Linked DNA regions of Homo sapiens: region 2 is linked to region 1. Evidence: promoter capture Hi-C in human tissues and cell types (Jung and others, 2019). All regions are on one chromosome and are shown on one strand. Each heading gives the region's core, a stretch centred on a gene start or on the middle of the fragment in contact. The rest is flanking DNA. Distances are from core to core; before and after follow the strand shown. Region 1 holds the start of CLDN19 (claudin 19). Region 2 overlaps FOXJ3 (forkhead box J3).

The links. The method cuts DNA at HindIII sites, captures the fragments that hold promoters and counts their contacts. A contact is called where the count stands out against the background at its distance.
Region 2: a contact is called between a fragment that was not itself captured here and the fragment with the promoter of CLDN19 in region 1, in 2 of the 25 tissues and cell types used here (hippocampus and mesenchymal stem cells).

The regions. Positions count from the first base shown.
Region 1 is chr1:42,736,983-42,743,396 of GRCh38, reverse strand. CLDN19 (claudin 19) reads left to right here and starts at 3,161. Exons shown (of 5, transcript NM_148960.3): 1 at 3,161-3,556; 2 at 4,812-4,976; 3 at 5,084-5,168. The coding sequence starts at 3,334. RefSeq lists an enhancer at 1,202-1,804. The HindIII fragment of the contact is 9,679 bases long and covers 1-4,810 here.
Region 2 is chr1:42,263,103-42,269,516 of GRCh38, reverse strand. It overlaps FOXJ3 (forkhead box J3), which reads left to right. Exons shown (of 13, transcript NM_014947.5): 4 at 4,328-4,402. Among named protein-coding and RNA genes, the nearest start is that of FOXJ3, 69 kb to the left of the region's middle. The HindIII fragment of the contact is 5,095 bases long and covers 1,629-6,414 here.

The sequences.
Region 1 (6,414 bases), core at 1,912-4,411:
TATAGTTCCGGGAATCTCAGACTCTGAGTTGGGAGGGTGATAAGAACTCCAAAATTTCAAATGATGATTGCAGAGAAGGTGCTAGATTGCTAAAGACTGAATCGGACCCTCCTAACTGACAATGAGAGAGGGCGGTGGAAAGGTCTCCGATTTTTCACAGGGAGGGAGGCAAAAGCATTGAATCCTCATACCAATCAGTCAATGATCAACACATACCTAGCAAGGCTGGCTCTCGGTCAGGCACTGTTGCAGAGGAAGTGGCAGTGGGTCTTCAGCCACAGGCAGTCTGCCCACTCCCAGAGTGCGAAGGCTGGAGGGGCAGACTGTGCGGGGAGTCTTTTTGGAACAGAGCTTTCATTAGTCACAGTTCTGCAGGCGTTTTATGCTTTCAAACAGCCTTTCTCACCTATCATCTGATCCTTGTAAACTCCCTCATGCATCAGACAGGGCAAGTGTTATTATCCCTACTTTTCAATGGAGAAACCAGGCCCAGGGAAGCTGAGGATTTGGCTAATGTCCCATAGCTTTTCAGTGGCAGGGGTAAAGCTAGAACTGTAGGCTTCTCATAGCCTGAGTGAAAGCACAGGGTGCTGTGCTACCCCAGGGCAGTTTCAGTGAGCTCTTAATGGAGGCTGGGCTGTGACCCTGAGCCTTCCTGTTCTCCCCGCATGTCTGGGAGTCATTGGACTGCAAGGGGGGGCACCAGGAGTGGTAGGTGTCCTGGGTGGAGAAGCTGTGCCAGGTTAAGGAATGCCGCTCCAGAAGCAGAATCTGAATTCCAAAAGGCTTTGGAACAAGAATGAGGGAAGGCCGTCAGGGTAGGAGAGAATATTTTGGTAGAACAGACTCAAAGCCTCAAATAACAAAGAGAAGGGATAAACAGAAGCACTTCAGAGGAAGAGGAGAGCACTGTTCCGGATCACGAAGAGGCTCTGGGAACACCCAGGATGGAGGAGCATGCAGGCCTCCTGCTGGCTCTGTGGCCCTGTGGACCCGTGGCTCCCTTTCTCTCTTTGGCCCTCAAATTGTCAATGGAGGGGGCCGCAGCCCATGGTCTCTGAGGCATGCTTCTGACTGGCCTCTGGGCTCCTGACCCAGGTCCCCCTGAAACCAGAATGACCCCTGGATCTTCCCTACAGAGAGAGCGCCTGCAGATGGCGGGGAAAAGGGGCCAAGGCCCAGCGTGGAGAGAAGGAGGACTTTGCCTTTGGAGGAGCATATGCGGAGCAGCTACCCAGCACCAGGCCCCTGCCCTCCCCAGACATCGCTTACTTTAACGGACCACCACAACTCCATGAAGCAAACCTCCCATTTAGAGTGAGGACCCTGAGGCACCACAGTCATTCAGGTCACCCCTGGGGAGCATCTTGTCACTGCCCGCAGCCCCCTTCAATCTGGACCTGGTGCCTCCCTCAAAAAGGGAGGAGTGTGGGAGAGAGACCACAGGGGCCAGCACCACACAGTTTCAAGCGGAAAGCCCTTCCTGCTGTTTCCTGGCTGGGGGTCTATTACCTCCCTCTGCCGTGGTCTCCTTACTGTTAGGAGGCCTGCTGCCTGCAACAGTGGCCCACATGCTTAAATTAATGCACTGGTCACAGGGTGCCCATTGCGGCCCCAGTAGGATGGAGGAGGCTCCCCTCAATCCTACTGTCTTGTCATTGTGGTAGAAGAATCTGAGCTCAGGACTTACTTCTCTGCCACTGTCCTAGACCCCATTTGGTCTTGGGACCCACAGGTCGTCCAGGAAGCAGGTCTGTGTGTGCTCGGATCCACGTGGCTCTGACCCTCCCAGCACAGAGAGCCTGAGGGTCCCAGTGTGCACCACCACAGGTCAAGCAGTGCCCACCCTTGACCCTCAGATGGCAGACCACTCCCCCATCTCTGGCCAGAGCTGCAGGCCATACCAGAGGCCTACGCCCTGGGCGGGCACACAGGGCTGCCATTGTCTGCTCAGCGCCTGGCACCCTCTCGTTTGCATAGCCACGTGAAGAATGCAAGAGCGGGCTGGGGACTTGTCCCTTCAGAGGGGGGTTGGGGCTGTGGGGGAGGAAGCCAGCAGGGGTCTGCAGCAGGACCCTGCCTTCCCCCAGTGCAGTCCAGGAAGGGTGGGTGGGCTGTTGGGGACGGAGGGGGCGGCGGGGGGCTGGCAGGAGTGGAAGCAGGGTTGTGACATTCCTTCTGCACCCACGCTGCAGTGGGGCCCACTTGAACGTGAGGGGATTGCTAATGAGGTGGAAGAGAGTTAAACATTCCCCTACTCCTGAAGACCAAGAGAGACTGGGAGAGAGAAGAGGGAGGTGGGGGTGCTCGGAGCGGGCAGCCTGAACCCCGGGAATGTGCAGAGGCCACTGCTCCGCGCCAGGCTGCTCTAGAGTTGGGGGCCAGGGCCCAGTGTTCCAGTCCCAGCAGGAGCTACTAAGCCAGCCAGCAAGGGGATTAAGGGGCTGAGCAATCCGCCTTCCTTCAGGCTGATGCCAGAAGGTTGGGGCTGTCTCCCCAGCTCCCCACCAGGCCCCTTGCTGGCCGGCAGCCAGCGCTGGCCCAGCCTCGATAGGGCCCCTTTTCTGTCCCCCTCAGATCTCAAAAAGACCCCACAGTACATATTTCCTGGTCTGGCCTCCCTGATTTTTGGCACACACAGCTCCCAGGTACCCATGACCCCTCTTCCCAACACCCCACCGCTAGCTCAGCCTCCCCACATCCAGCTTCAGAGCCCCTGCCAAAAAGTTATCCTTGACATCTAACTCTAGTTTTACCCGCTGCAAACTGGCATTCCTTTCCCTTCTGTCCTAAAGTCAAAGGGCAGAAAACCCCAAGGGTTAGATCAGCCTTGCAAGAGCAAAGTCCATCCTCCCAGGGCTGGTGTTTGGGTTAGGGATTATCCGAATTTTAGGACACCCGAATCAGGTTCCTAAAGGGGTTTCCCTGTGGGGAAAGGCCCAGAGGGCAGCTGGGTCATTCCTCTCAGCCCCTCCCTTCCCTATCCCTGCGGAACGGGGCGGGGCAGGGACACCACCTGGGCCATGGGCCGGCCCTCCGCCCCCAGGGGGCTGGGCATGAGCTTTGCTGGGGACCCTGCTCTGGCTTAGGCGGCTGCTGTGGGCGGGCCCTGGCCTTTTCCAGCCCCTGGGCCTCCCCCTGCATTCTGGAGTCCAGAGCCACTGCCTTTGCTCCAGCCGCTGCCGCCGCACCACCTCTCCTTCTCTGCCTCTGACCCTCCTTCTCGCTGCTCCCCCTGCCCAGCTGCTCCTCCCACCTGGCCATGACCAAAGCCCCTGCTGGCACCCTGGCCCAGCTCTGAGTCCTGGGACCCTCGGTCCTCTCTCCTGGGCCATGGCCAACTCAGGCCTCCAGCTCCTGGGCTACTTCTTGGCCCTGGGTGGCTGGGTGGGCATCATTGCTAGCACAGCCCTGCCACAGTGGAAGCAGTCTTCCTACGCAGGCGACGCCATCATCACTGCCGTGGGCCTCTATGAAGGGCTCTGGATGTCCTGCGCCTCCCAGAGCACTGGGCAAGTGCAGTGCAAGCTCTACGACTCGCTGCTCGCCCTGGACGGTAGGCCCCAGGCCGGCGGGGTGGGAGATGGGAGGTGGGAACAGCAGGGGAGTCTGGAGCAAGTTTTCCTCACAGTCTGCTATCTGCGCTGGGCTCCAACCTCCAGCCTCCGCTCTACAATTCCCCCACTACTGCCCTGTGCCCATTGACGGTCCAGGCCAGCCTGCTGCCCTGTGGGAGGGGAGGGCTCTAGGGTCTGGCGGCTGTGGGTCCAGATTCCTGCTCTGTCACTATAACTTTGAACTAGTCACCAAACCTCTTCCCATTGTGATGTTCTCATCTCTAAAGGGGAATACTAATACCTGTGGCACTCTGAAAGACTCAGTTAAGACCCTTCATCCACTTCTCCCCACAGTCAGTAGACAGACACACACTGTATGATGCACACCTGCTCCCTAGTCCTGCTCCCAGGCCTGTGTGCCAGCATATGGGTGCATGCACATGCATGCAAACACGCATGCACACGCACACACGTGCACATGCATGCACAGACAGGTGTGTCTGCATGCAGTCCCTCTCCTTCTGGGGTGTGGAGATGAGCCTGACAGGCACCGCCGAAGTTCTAACTCTGGGGTGGAGGTGATCCACCTGCAATCTGCCCAGGAGCCCCCAGGGACAATCTGCTCCCCATGGGAGCTGGGAGCAGAGCGGCCTTCAACCAGCCCCATTGTGCCAGTTCAGGCAGGTCAGTTCAGGCAGGTCATCTAGCCTCGCTGAGGGACCCAGGTCTCCTGAGCACCCCCCAGGGCCCAGGATGGACCCATGCACCCGTGAAGAGGCAAGCTTCCAGCTGCCATGGGCAGAGGGGAAAGTGACTGTTGTCTGAATGGCTGCTGGGGAGGGGTTGCTGCGGGGCTCAGGCTGAGTTGAGCTGGGCCTCAGATACCCCCAGCTCTTCCACCTACCAAACCTGAGGGGACCCTGGAGCTGCCCTCAGCTGCTTGGGAGGATGGGCCAAGCCCAAGAGGGAGTCCCCAGGCCAGAAAGCAACAGCAGAGTGAATCATACTACCGGAAAAGCCTGCAAGGGCGAGTGGAGAATGGCGTTGACAGTGAAGGGGACTCTCACCCCCACACCCTGTCCTCATGCCCGGGCTGTCACTCCTCACTATCCTGCACCTGCCAGAAGGTGGTCTGACCCCCCAGGCCAGCTCCTGCTCAAGCCCCTCTCAAGCTGGGCTCCTTCCACCGACCCCAGGCACCGACCCAACCCCCATCCCCGCCAGCCCGACTCAGTGTCATCCCGCCCACCCTAGGTCACATCCAATCAGCGCGGGCCCTGATGGTGGTGGCCGTGCTCCTGGGCTTCGTGGCCATGGTCCTCAGCGTAGTTGGCATGAAGTGTACGCGGGTGGGAGACAGCAACCCCATTGCCAAGGGCCGTGTTGCCATCGCCGGGGGAGCCCTCTTCATCCTGGCAGGTGAGTGCCCCTCACTCCTGCACAATCACAACCATGGCAGGCAGCCCCAGCCCCAGTGGCCTCGGGGGGCCAGAGCAGAGCTGAGCGCCCCTCTGCTTTGTCTTTAGGCCTCTGCACTTTGACTGCTGTCTCGTGGTATGCCACCCTGGTGACCCAGGAGTTCTTCAACCCAAGCACACCTGTCAATGCCAGGTGGGTGCCAGGGCTTGGGTCTTTTGCTTTACCTCCTCTGGGGCCACTGACCTTTGTCCACTGGATCACCTGGCGGGGGAAGTGGGGACAGGATCCAGCTGCTGTCCAAGAAGCTTTAAAGGGGGGCGCCAGGAGGAGTGTGGTGGGGCCCTCCATAGGGGCGGGAGGCCTGTGATGGGCACCCAGGTGCAGCAAGGACTCTCTAAGGACCTAAGTGCCCTGGCTCTGGGTTTCAATCCCAGCTCTGGCTGGGTGCAGTGGCTCACGCCTGTAATCCCAGCACTTTGGGAAGCCAAGATGGGTGGATCACCTGAGGTCAGGAGTTCAAGACCAGCCTGGCCAACATGGTGAAACCCCGTCTCTATTAAAAATACAAAAAATATCTGGGCATGGTGGCGGGCGCCTGTAATCTCAGCTACTCGGGAGGCAGAGGCAGGAGAATAGCTTGAACCCGGGAGGCAAAAGTTGCAATGAGCCGAGATTGCGCCACTGCACTCCAGTCTGGGTGACAGAGTGAGATTTTGTCTCAAAAAAATCAAACGATCAATCAATCCCAGCTTTGCATGCACTGTGTCACCTGGGCAAGTTACTTAATCTTTCTGTGCCTAGTTTCCTCCTCTGTGAAATGGAGCTAGAACCTGAGCACCAGTTCACACATGGTTGTCAGGATCCAGCAGGATGCAGGTGAGGGTGTGGCACCGTGCCCGGGCCCTGGACAGTACCCAGCAAGCCTGAGCTGTTTTCATTTCTGCTGGTGGCAGCAGGGCTGAGATGACTTCCTGCAGGAGGCAGCAGTTATTCTGGGCCAGGAAGAAACTTGAGAATAAGGGCAGATCGTGGAGGGCCTTGCAACCACAGGAAGATTTTGTTCCTCATTTGGGTGGAGGCAGCGGCAGTCCTTCTGGCTGTGATGTGCAGAATGGTGGGGAGGGAGTGACACCAGGAAGGCGGCTGTCCCAAAGGTCTGAGCAGAGAGTTTGGGGCAACAGGGAGGGAGCAGTGGAAAGCAGGCTGATATTCAGGAGATAACCAGGACTTGTAAGACTGTGGGCATGGGAACTGAAGGGGATGCTCTGCAAAGGGCCTGGGCCCACCTTGGCTCCTCCCTCACTTCTCAGCCTAGCCAGGAGCAGAGAATGGGACAGTCTTAACCCTAGACATCCCAATGGGCTTTGGGCCTTGGGGTGGAGAGAGGATGAGAAAAGATGTCTGGGCTTTTGCAATCGGGAGGGATGCCTGGAGGAGG
Region 2 (6,414 bases), core at 2,927-5,426, 470 kb after region 1:
AGGTGGCAATTGGCTGTAACTGAGATTGGCTAGGCAGCAGATGTAGAAATGAAAAAGACATAGGGCAGAACCCTGAAGATTTCCAACATTTAAGCTTTTTGTAGAGGAGGAAGACTGTAGAGGTGTGTACTTCCTTTGAAGTGATGAGTTCACACTGAGCCATTTACTAATGATACTTGTTTCTTCTGACCATCTTGATTTGTATTTTCCCCTCATCTTGAACTTTTAAGCTGGGTAGGTGAACTAGTTTGTCTGATGCCTCTTTCTTTTTTCATGTCTTATTTTAGATTTGAATTGTGTATTTTTTATGATTCCATTTTATCGCCACAATTCTGTTATTAGTTATCCCCTTTCTAAATTGTTTTTAGTGATTACTCTAGGGTTTACTATATACATCTTAGTTCATTCAGGCTGCTATAACAACAAAAAGAAAACCAAAAACCTAGAGTGGGGGGCTTACAAACAACAAATGTTTATTTCTCATAATTCTGGAGGCTGGGAATTCCAAAATCAAGATGCCAGCAGATTCTGGTGATGGCCTGTTTCCTGGCTCATAGATGATCCCATTCTCATTATAACCTTACATGGTAGAATAGGGAAATAAATTCTCTGAGGCCTCTTTTATAAACACTAGTCTCATTCATGAGGACACCCTTCATAACCTAATCACCTTAAAGGCTCCACCTCCAAATATCATCACATTGGGAATTAGGTTTCAACATAAGAATTTTGAGGGGACGCAGATATTCAGTTGATTGTAACATCTTTAAGTTACTGCACTTTACCTTCAAATAGTATTAAACCATTTCATGTATAATGTAAGAATTTTATAAACCACGTCTTTCCAGTTCCTTTGACCCATCCTTTTTGCTATTGTTGTCATACATTTTACTTTTACATGGTTCCAAACTCCGTAATAAATTATATTTGCTTTATACAATTTATTTTTTATATTTTACAGTCTGAATATCTTCATACAGTTTTTTTTAAAGCATTAAATCTACCTTCATTTTTTACCATTTCCGGCACTGTTCATTTATTTTTGTGATCTGCATTTTTGTTTGATTTCATACTTCTGCCAAAAGAACTTCCTTATAACAGTGTCAGTGAGCCGAAATGAATTTTTTCAGCTTTTGTTTGGAAGTCTTTATTTTGCCTTTATTTTTGAGAGATATTTTCACTGCACAGGTTTTTTTTTCTTTCAGTATTTTAAGATGTCACTCCATTGCCTTCTGGCTTGCATAGTTTTTGAAAAGTCCACTGTAATTCTTACCTTTATTCCTTTATATATAATCTGCTTTCTCTGGCTGCCTTCAAGATGTTCTTTTTTTTGATTTTTAGCCCTTTCACTGTAATTAATATGGGGATGTGGATTTTTACTTTATTCTGCTTGGTGTTCTCTGAAATTCTTGCATATTTGGGTTGATGTCTTGCATTATTTTTTTGAAGATTCTTGACTGTTACTTCAGATTTTCCCTCTGCCCCATTCCTTTTTTTTCTCCTTCTGGGACTTTAATTGCATTTATCATCACACAGTTCTTGGATGATCTGTTTTGTTTTTGTTTTGCTCTTTGTGAATGTGCCAGTCTCTGTTTGGAAATTTCTGTTACTCTACCCTCAAAATTCTCTGAGCCTTTCCCTAGTTGTGTCTAGTTTAATGATGAGCCCATCTGAGGAATTTTAAAAATCTTTAATCATGTTTAATGTTTTTTATTTCTATCGTTTATATTTGTCTCTTTCTTTAGTTTTCACATTTCTGTTGAAATTCTCCATCTCTTTATGCAAGCAAGTTGTCCACTTTTTTTCTGCTAGACCCTTTAACATATTAAGCATGGTTATTTTAATTTTTTTTTTCTGATAGTTCTAACACCTGAGTCTTCTCTTGGGTTTTGTTGATTATTTTATCTCTTGGCAGTAAGTTTTCCTTTCTTTTCTATGTCTTATAATTGTTGCCTGAGACCAGATATCTGTGTAGAAGAATGGTAGACGTTGAGTTAAATAGTACTTGTACTTGTGAATGGACAAGCATCTTTTTTCTCAGGCCGTTCTTGTGGGGATTGAGTCTGTCTGTCAGTAATGTGGATTTTTTTAAAATTTATGTCTTTATCTTCAGTATACCACAAACTTTACATTCCTCCAGCAGTGGGCTCCTGTTAATTTGTGCTTGGAGAGGGTGCGGTAGGATTTTTTTGTTTTTTCATCTCTTTAGATTTTAGTTGTCTCTGCCCACCTTTTTACACATGGGGATTTCTCGTCCCTTCTCTGTCAGTAGACTGTGTTTGCTTGTTATTCAGTGGTATGCTTTTGGTAGAGGCAAGGAGTTTTCTCTGTTGTGTTGGTCCAGCCTTAGTCTTATGCAGACCCTCGAACTTAGGGTGGGCTGTTTCAGTGTTTCTTCCCTCAGCCAGACTAGTCTTGTGTATCTGTAGTTACTTTTGGGTGAGAGTTTCGCGCCTCTTCTCCAGGTGTAGCAGACCTCTACATGGTATCTGTATAGGATCCTGGGCCCAAGGTAGTTTCCTATACCTCTCCCAGAGTTCAAGGGATTTGCTTCTACTTTTCCTCCAGCAGCAGAACATCTTTGCCTATGTACTGGGTAAGGGTTTCCTATCCCTTCCTAGAGGCACCAGGGTTTTGTTTCCATTCTTCCCCCAGAAGCAGTGAATCTTTGCCAGAGTCCTATGGGTGACAGGTTTTGCTGCCTTTACTGCAAACTTGTTTTTTTGCTTTGTAAAATCTATGGAAGGTTGGTGGGCTTTGTCTCCTCACTGCCTGTCACTGTCAATCACTTTCTTCCTGTTTATGCCACTAGGGGAGACTTTCTTGGGTCTCCTTTCCTACCCCTATTTTTTCTTAGGAACACATGGTAAAGACCTATGGAGAAGAGCTTAAGAGTGTGTGGGAACTTCTCGTGTCTGGGGTTCTTGTTGCTCTAAAGTGACAGCCCCACGCTTGGCCTTTAAAATTTTAGCTAATTTCTTTTTAACTGCTTGGATGGTGGCCATCTCTTTTTCCTGTGCTCTGCCAAAGGTGATTTAGTTGTGTGTCCAGTTTCTCATTGAATAGCCTTGCTCCTCTTAGGAATGTGGTTTGGTTGCCTTGCAACCTGAGCTCTCTGATGTGGCTTAAAAATAGGTTTTTTTTGTTTATTTTTTTTAAAGCTTACCTAGGGTTTTCTCTTTGGGAGAGAGCATCATTCTTTGTAGCTGTTTACATCCCAAGCATAAGTTTTAAATTTCTGCTTTGGTAATAGATGGTCTTGAATTTATATTCTGTAGTCATCTTTTAAAAACGTTTAAAATTCCAATATTGTGCCTGAGGGAGATAAGTTTTATTATAGGCATTCTTGTTAGACTACTGAATTTTATATTAAACAATAAAGCAGATATTATGTCAAAATATGATCCCAGAAGGTACCATTCTAAGTAATGGCTAAATGCAGTTGGACCTCTTCTCTCCCAAATACTAGCCATTTGGGAACAAACCAAGATAATTTGAGAATGGGTTTTGGAGCATTTAATTGAGAAGAAATGGACTTTGGGGCATATTCTGTAAGAATTGGGGTACAGTCCTACCTATTCATGAACAAATTTCTTTTTCACAGACTCTGCAGGTTTCCAAGGGCATTTTCCTGCTACCCACCTTGGGTGTTCTTCCCTGCTACAATGAAGAATTTAGATGTTCTTCCCAGCTCCCTGTAGCCAGTATCTTTCCATGTGGTTTTCTTTTTTACAGATTGTGGTGAGAACCTAATAGGGTTCTATATGTTTTTTTGTAATAGAGCAGTGAATGTTTTTTTAAAGCATTTTTTAAACTAATTAATAAGTGGTAATACATGTGTCTTGCAGACCATTTGGACTTTGCAGAAAAGTAAAGAGAAGAAAATAGTCATCATCTTTAATTTCATGTAGAGTAACTTCTTACATTTTGCATTCTGGCTTATTTCCAAGAATAAATAAATAAAATAAGTACCACAATTAAAGTCATAATATGTATCATAATATGCCAATTTTATATTTGGAATTTAATATTTAACATTACATTACAGGCATCTTCCTGTATCAATAAAAGTCATAAGCACTTAAAATGCTACATATATTACATTTTATGAAATCCTCTAGAAATTATTTTCCAGTAACAGCTTCCCCTCATAGCATTCATAATTTGAAAGTCAGAAAGATTTAAATTTTAAGCTGATTAAAAAGTTTATTCCATTTGTAATTGTTTTGCAAAGCATAAAGATGTTTAGATTTCTAATTCTGTTTTTAAATTTGGGTTATGTTTTTTGGATTTTATTGACCTTATGGCTTTTCTTCTTTAATTCCAGAATTCCATACGACATAATCTGTCATTGAACAAATGTTTCCTTAAAGTGCCTCGATCTAAGGATGACCCTGGAAAGGTAGGATTCATCTTCTTAAAACAGTTGAATTCTTCAGTATGTCACTTGTCATGTTTGAATTAAGAACTTTTCCAGTTCATTGAATAGGAACCTCTGCAAAATAGTAAGTCCTCCCCCACCCTGCTCTAAAGCTTGTTAGAGAGTTTTAAGCTGTGGGAACCTAACTAGTGTATAGCTGTTGCACACCACAGTGCTGTTGTACTTTGCTGTTTCTAATCTAATCTTTGGTTGAAGTATTGTGTATTAAATTAAATTTGGTGATTGAGCTGCTTGTCAGGAACCATAATTCATTATTACATATAAGGGGTGCATCTCTGTGTAACTGGCAAAAAGTGGAAGTATTCTTACACTGGAATAAAACAGTTTCTCTGTTATTAGCCCATTTCTGAGTGTAATCAAGAAGAGTATTCTGTACTTGACTCTTCTTATCTCCTGACACCACTGCATTTTTCACGTTTTTAGCGTTTTTTCTATGGTGACTCCTCCCTTTTTTTGTTGTTTTAATAGCTAGTCAACTATAGTGTGACCTGAACTTGGTCCTAGTTGCTTGGTCTCTGAAACTTAAGAGTACTTGGTTGTACTGTATTTGGTTGTCAAGGTAAGTTACTAGATTAGGACTTTGAGACAGTGTATTTATTGGGAAGCACGATGCTTGTTTAGGTGGCTAGACTTCTTATATTTGTTTTTAGGCTAACTGATTTTGGAAGAATCTTTCTAAAATGTAACCCTGGTCATGTAAGCACCTTGCTTAAAAGTATTCCTTAGTGTCCAGGAGGTGTTTACTTTCTCTTCTTGTAAAATATTCTTTACTGTTTTTTTCTCAATCTGCCTTTCTAGCTATAATTCACCTCATTCAAGACTCATCATGAAGAACTACTTGAAGTTTTCCAAACATGCTATTCATATGGTCTTCTGTACAAATTTCCTTGCTTTACTTGTCTAGACTGCTTCTTATCTTTCAGTATTGAGCTGCAACATGACTTCTCTGAGGCTTTTTTGTTTCCCCATACTTCAGCTGAATTTGTTGCTCCCTCTTTTGAGTTCTTTTTATTTTGTAGCGACCGTCATCATTGTAGTAGCTCCTAATTGGACTCTCAATGGCTGGGCTCGATCCCTCCAGTTTATATTAACTTTCACATAGTAGGCAGCAATCTTCAAAAAAAAAAAAAAAAAAAAAAAAAAAAGTTAACCTACTCATATGGTCTCTTTTTTTCAAGCTCTTTGTTAGTTATCTACTGCCCTTAAAATCTAAATTTATGCAAGTAGGGTTCATGTGTATCTTGTTCACTGTTTAGACCCAGTTGCTTGCACAGTGGCTGATGGCACTGAGGAGACACCCTTGTTGAATGAATGAATATACTGTATCCTCTGTTAGACTGTTAACTTCTTGAAGTTAGAGATGAAGAGTTATTCGTTTCTATCTTTAGGCAGTTTTTCTGAAGTAATGAACATTTTATAGCACTTTTTATCATCTGTCTGCTCCGTCAAGTTGGTTCTCAGTAAGATTGAACAGATTATTATAATAGTCTTGTAAGAAATTGTTTCTCTATGTTTTTAACTTTGAGATTCTGAATAGGAATTGGTGCACCTTTTCCTTTAAAGGAAAGGAGGCTTATTACAAAAAGATAATTAGATTTTAAAAATAAATTCTTTATCACATTTCCTATAGGCAATGAGTATATATGAATCAGACTGAAAAATATTTTTAAGAGACTTCAGAGATTATTTACTAGAGTCCTGTGAAGTTACTATTTGGGTTCTGTAAACATTTTGGTTCTGATTGGATTTTTAAATGAATTTGAAATAATTAAAAAAAATTAAAAATCAGTACACATGAATGCTTAATTCTATCATGTACTTGATTTTAACCAATTGGAGACTCTTAAAAATGTGTCATGTCAGGTATTTTTCTTTTGTGTAGAAGTTTAAGCTTTTGTTCATCTTTAATATATGGGGTAAGACAGATATGGAAAACATGTTACTCTTTGCAACTCTTCTTTTTGAATCAGGAT